2 separate regions of the Homo sapiens genome follow, and region 2 is linked to region 1. Evidence: promoter capture Hi-C in 16 types of primary human blood cells and fetal thymus (Javierre and others, 2016). All regions are on one chromosome and are shown on one strand. The core of a region is centred on a gene start or on the middle of the fragment in contact, and the rest is flanking DNA. Distances in the headings are between cores, read along the strand shown. Region 1 holds the start of LINGO1 (leucine rich repeat and Ig domain containing 1). Region 2 has its middle 6.0 kb from the start of PSTPIP1.

The links. The method cuts DNA at HindIII sites, captures the fragments that hold promoters and counts their contacts. A CHiCAGO score of 5 or more calls a contact.
Region 2: a contact is called between a fragment that was not itself captured here and the fragment with the promoter of LINGO1 in region 1, in 1 of 17 cell types (endothelial precursors). The highest score is 5.0, in endothelial precursors.

Annotation. Positions count from the first base shown.
Region 1 is chr15:77,631,190-77,634,187 of GRCh38, forward strand. It overlaps LINGO1 (leucine rich repeat and Ig domain containing 1), which reads right to left and starts at 1,723. Exons shown (of 2, transcript NM_032808.7): 1 at 1,121-1,723. The coding sequence starts at 1,126. RefSeq lists enhancers at 2,542-2,998, 2,547-2,676. The HindIII fragment of the contact is 14,548 bases long and covers 1-2,998 here.
Region 2 is chr15:76,987,617-76,990,659 of GRCh38, forward strand. No RefSeq gene overlaps it. Among named protein-coding and RNA genes, the nearest start is that of PSTPIP1, 6.0 kb to the right of the region's middle. RefSeq lists an enhancer at 756-915. The HindIII fragment of the contact is 2,577 bases long and covers 253-2,829 here.

The DNA.
Region 1 (2,998 bases), core at 473-2,972:
GCCGCGGGCCAGGCTGGGCTATGCGCCCTCTGGCTGCCCAAACCAAGCAGAGGACTGAGGGAGGGCTGGGCGAGCAGGAAGGGGCTGTCCAGATGCCACAGCCCCTACCTCAGGGCCTCCTGCACTCCCACCCGCTCAGGGCAGAGCTCTTCCCATCCTCTCAGGCCCCCTTCTGCCCCACCCCAACCCCAAGGCCTCTGAGAACAAAGAGGAGGTGCAGGCACAGTCAGGCTGGACCAGGCTGGGCTGCGACCCCAGCAGGAACCGGGAGGGGCTGCCCACTGGCCTGGCCCCACCCCTCCTTCTCAAAGTGGGATCCGCCCGGAGGGTCACATCTCCTGGCATGCCTTGAGAGCAGAGAGCCCACAGCCCACCCCGAAAAGGGTGTGAGGGGGAGCAGGAGGCTCCCTCCTTACCTCCCTCTTCTCAGCTGGTTCCCACCTCCCACCCGCTCTGCCTTAGAATGAAAAGTGGGGCAAGAGGAGGTGAGAAGCCCGGGCTGAACGCAGACAAAGGGGAGGCCCCTAAAGCGTTCCTGGGCGCTCCCGGTCCCCAACTCCCTTCCTTCCACTCTCCCTACTCCCCATCTCCTTTTCACTGGGCAGGAGCTGGAAAGGGGCGATGCTTGTGTGTGGTGGGGAGCTGCCATCCAGGCTGGAGCTTGTGGAGAAACCCAGCCCCTGACCTGTGTCCACCAGCTAGGGAGTGTCTGGTGCTGGTGGGGGCTGCCTGGGGGTACCTGGGGTCCACGAAGGGAGGTACCCACCCAGGGCTGAGCAGGGGGCTTACCCTCTAGAGTGACCAATACTCAGAATGGGAGGGGGGACAGGAAGGGGAGACCAGAGCAGGTCTGGGACACCCGTGGGGGCCCCTCCCCAGCTCCAGGCTCCCAGCTTACAAACCCGGAATTTGTTGGGGTTGGAGAGAGGGGAGGTGGAAAAGGAAGAATTTTCATTTCTGAGGCTTGAGGGGAAATCAGGCCTATGACCCCAAAGGAGGTCTGGGTGGCACCGAGGTGCCCTGCAACCCCAGGAGGGCGCAGCCAGGGCCGATGGCGGCCCCCAGGGGCACTCGCCGCGGGGCTGCCCGCTCGGGGCTCGGCCGCGGCCGCCTGGCTCACCTGCATCTCGGGCGCGCCTTCGGTCCGCTCGGCTCGGTCACCAATCGCATGTCTCTCCAGCCGGCCCGACCAGGCCCCAGCCCCTGCCCAGCCCCCTCCTCCGTTTCCTCCTCCTCCGACACCTCCGCCCGGCAGTCCGCGCGCCCTCGCGGGGCTGGCTGTCCGTCTGTCCGCCCCGCGCGGGCGGGAGCCGAGCCGGAGCCGGGGCCGGGGCTCGGGAGTGGGGAGGCGGGAGGCCGCGGCCCCGGCGGGCGGATGGGCGGGCGCGCTCAGGCCGCGGGACAGGGGCTGCGCGAGCCTGCTTCTGCCCCCTGGGCCGGCCCGGAGCCGCCGCCGCCGCCTCTGCCGCTGGGGCCGGGGTCGAGGCCGGGCGCGCTCCGCCGCGGGGCCGGGGCCGGCGGGCAGCGGCCGCGCATGCTGCTCGGCGCCCCGCGTCGGGAGAGGGGCCGGAGCGGCGCGGGTGGGGACTCCGCGCCCTCCGGGGCCGGGACCAGGACCCACCGCCGCCGCCGCCGCCTGCGCTGTCGCCCGCCGCCCGCTCCGGCTCCCGCGCCGGCTCCCGCTCGGGCTCCGCGCTCTGCAGCGGCGCGGGGAGGGAGCACTAGGAGCGAGCCAGGGAGGGAGGAGGGATCGAGGGAGGAGGGAGCGAGTGAGCCGCGGGAGCCGGGCGGGGGAGGAGAAGGCGCGGCCGCAAAACCTGGTGATGGTGGTGGTGGGGTGGGGGGTGGTTCGTCTCCTTTCAGCGGAGGGGGCGGAGAGCGAGGGGCGCCCCAGCCGCTGCCCTGCACGCTTAGGGCAGCGAAACAGGCAGGGGTGCGCAGGCGAGGGGCGCACCAGCCAGGCGCTCCAGCTCTGCACACGGCCGCGCCCCTCCGGGTCCGGGGCTCTGGGCGAGTCCCGGGCCAGCCGGGTGTCGGGGAGTCCGGCGTGCGGTCCTCCCTGGGTGTATGCGCGCACACCGTTGTGTGTGATTTTTGTGTTGCCACATGCGTGTGCATGTGAGCGCGCGAGTGTGTTTACACGTGTTAACTGGGCTGTGGACGAACACACGCACGAGGACGGACAGGGCTCCCTACACGAACAGGGTTGTTTGGAGGGCGGCATGGGGAGGCCGACCGGGAGCCCCCGTCCTGGCCCTGTCCCCTCCTCTCGAAAGTCCGCGAGGCTAGAGGGCCCACATTCTAGCGCGGGAGGGCGAGGCAGGCAGAATGGGAAGCTCCAGGGGACGGCGAGGAAGCCGCGCTGGCCCGGCAGCTCTACCCAGGAGCCGGGGTCCCCGCCCAGCCTGGCTTCCTGTCCAGCAGAGGGCGGCAGGCCTCTCTGGCCCGCTCCGTCCGGAGGCCCTGCACCCAGTGGCCAGCAGAGGGCAGCGCAGAGCCTCCGCCTGGGCTTGACTGTTCCCTCCTCCCGGAATGGTCCCGGGGATCCTCGGCTGGGGCCACAACTTCAGACGGGCCCAAGGAATGGGACCTCTCCTCGGAGATCCAGATCCTCCTTGATCCTCAGATACAGAAACTAGGCCAGCAGGGATGTCTTGGCAAAGCCTGCAGAGTAGGTTACCACCCTCAGGACCTCACCTTTTTCCCTATACTACCCCCTCCATCTCCTTGAAGCCAGACGCCCTTTACCACCAAGCCAGTTTTATTAGAATAACCATCAATGCTGACACCGCCCGGCACGGCCATCCCTCCTCCCCTGCTGGGAACAACCCATTAGCACATGAATACTCCTAATAGCTTGAGTCCACAGGGGCAGCTGAGGCTGGGGGAGGGGATCTAGCCCAAAGCCTCTCGGATTCTGGGGCAGACGCTGGAATCCCAGTTCCAGTGACACCCCCTCTCCCAGGAAGCCTGCGCAACATCATTGCAGAGATGCCTG
Region 2 (3,043 bases), core at 291-2,790, 640 kb before region 1:
GGCTGGACCTCTTCCAACTCTGACTCCAGGGATCATCTACCCCCGCCCCCCCCACCCCAAGTTCCACTCCTTGCACAGGCTGGGGCTTCCCTACTCCGAGCCTCAGCACATGCTGCTCCCTTTGCCTGCACACGGGCCCACCACATGTCTCTGCCTATTGATTTTCCGGCCCAGCCAAGACTGAAGTTGGGGTCTCCTGCCTCTGAATCCTAGGTTTTCAGGGAAAATTAAACACCAGCTGGGCTGAAATCAAGCTTTGCTTTACTGTGAACAAGTCATTTTCCACCTGAATTAAAACCAACCCAAGGGGGGAGAGGATGCTAGAAACACATTTTTGAAGCTGTTTTGAGAGACAGCTGCCATAATGGAAACAAAACAAAACAGGCTAGAAAAGGGGTTGGGGGGTGGGAGATGGTTATGCCTTTCCTTCCCTGTCAGTGAGATCATTCTACTGGTCCCCCTCTGGGCCCTGCTACCCCACTTATTGGGCCTCAGTTTCCCATTTGTAAAATGAGAAAGTAAGGCAATAGCAGGAGTTCTCCTCCAAGGTGTATGACTGACTCACTTACGAAACCTAAAATCTATACTCCCTGGCCCCACCCAGTCAGTAGGCCAAGGTTGGGACTTGGCCTTTTGCTTTTTTTTTTTTTTTTTTTTTTAACAAAGTCCCACTTCTGGTAGGCACACTTTGTGCTGTTTGAGCACCTCCAGATAGTCCCTGCAGGCTCTTCCATCACTGCAGTCCTCCGTCCTCTGACCAGTGATCGGGTGGCAGTGGATTCCTGGGACTCACTGAGGCCCCTTCCCCATGCCCACCAGTTCCTGGGCCACCTCCCGAAGGGCCACTTTGCACCTCTTTGCTGTCTTTCAAGAATCCTGACCGGCACTCGGCTTCTGACGACTGATAATGCTTGGAAACTCAGAGTCACACTCTTGTGGCTGCAAATTAGTAAACCTGAAAGCTCCTCGTCAACTCAGGCGAGCTGTGTGAGTGGGAAGAGGCCTTAGTTTTTGCAACTGCTGTCCCTGGGGGCAAACTGAAAAACAAACTGTATCACATCCTGAAGGCCAAAGGCCACACCCTCAGCCCCAGTGGAGGACTCTGGGGCAAGGATATTTCCTGGAGTCAGAGGAGAGGAGCCTCCATCTGAGCGCCACACCCCCACCCCGCATGGGCTCTGCACTTCCTCCTCAGTGGGGACTTGCTTTTCCCTTCTTCCTCATCCTGTTTCTGCCCCAGGCCCTGGCCCCTCACTGCCAGCCCCACACTCTGGGGAGGAAAGACCCTTTTTAGCGATGGGACTCCGAAAAGTTAACTGACCTGTCTAAGCCTCAGGTTCCTTATCTGTTGAATGTGGCCGTAATGCCTCACACTGTTGTTGGGAAGATTAAGTGATACATAAGGCATGGGAAGTGCTTACAGCAGAGCCTGATGCAGCACAGCCCTAGTAGACTATTAGCGTTATTCTGGAACTCCCTTCCTGCCTCACGGGTGAGCTCTTTCCCATTAATCAAGACCCAGCTCCCCTCCTTTGGGAGGACTTCCCAGGCCAGGCTCCTCAACAGCCTTTCTCTGTTGTCTGCGCACAGCACATTTTCCCTTCCTAGGCTGCCTCCCTCACCAGACTGGCAGGGGCTGAGCTTGTTCATTTGCATGTTCCCAGACAGGAAGGCTCAGTCAGTGCTGGTGGGTGTGCTGCAGTGGAGCTTGTTCCAATCTGGGACAGGGTAAGTGGGGTGGACAGTGGTTGCCCCAGTACAGTAGGCATGTGCCTCTGGCCACCTGGAGGGACCCTACAGGTATTTCCCCCAGCAATAGTGAACCATCATGGCCAGGTGCTGGAACATCCCACTTCAGCCATGGGATGGGTGCACAACCCTACAGCCATGGGCAGCGTCATGACAGTGCATCCACCGAGGTCTAAATGGCCGACTCATGAATGCCCTTCTGGCCATAAGCTGATGGCAGGTTGAGAATTACTCCTGCAGGACAGATGCTCCCCTGCAGAAGGGAGAAGCGTGCGTCACTTGCCCTACCCCTTGGACCAGTGGCAATGCCATCTCCAAATGAAATTCATGGCAAGGGCCTCCTGGCTCTTCGAATGTCACCAAAGAGCTTTCAGACCCTCCTTCTCTCCCTCTTCTTTCCAGCCCCTGCCCCTCTTCAGAAGGCTGGAAGCTCTCGCTTTAGATTCTTCCTGGATAACAAATTAGAATCTTAGGACCCTCAGAGTGCAGTCCCGCCCTCCAGCTTGGTGTCAGCCTCACCTCTGAGAGCTATTCCCCCAACAACGTCTTCTCTTCCAGCCCCTGAGAACTTGGCTGAACTTCCTTCAAAATGGTGTTTATTCGGCCAGGTGCAGTGGCTCACACCTATAATCCCAGCAGTTTGGGAGGCCAAGGCAGGCAGATCACCTGAGGTCAGGAGTTTGAGACCAGCCTGGCCAACACTGTGAAACCCTGTCTCTACTAAAAATATAAAAATTAGCCAAGCATGATGGTGCATGCCTGTAATCCCAGCTACTTGGGAGGCTGAGGCTGGGAGAACTGCTTGAACCTGGGAGGCAGAGTCTGCAGTGAGCCAAGACTGTGTCACTGCACTCCAGCCTGGGCGACAGAGCGAGACACTGTCCCAAAAAAAAAAAAAAAAAAAAAGGAAAAAAGAAAAAAGATGTTTATTTGCTTTCCATCTTGCCTGCATTTTGTCCATTTGTCCATCCATTTATTGGTCAGGAAAGGCTTTCCTGAAGAGGTGACATTTGATAAGAGGGCCAAGGGATAAGGAGTAGTTAGCTGGGCCAAGGCAGGGTCTAGGATGGAACGGGAAGAAGCTTCCAGGCAGAGGGGTGATCATGTGTGAAGGACCCGGGAAAGAAGAGAATGAGGCAGAATGGAGGAATTGAAAGATGGTCCAGGAAGCAGTATCAGAAATTGAGAGAGGCATAATGGGAGTTGAAGTTTTGAAGAGTAGGCTGGGACCAAATTATGCAGGGTCTGTAGGCCATGTAAGGGCAATGGCCATTGTCCTGAGAGTAATGGAAAA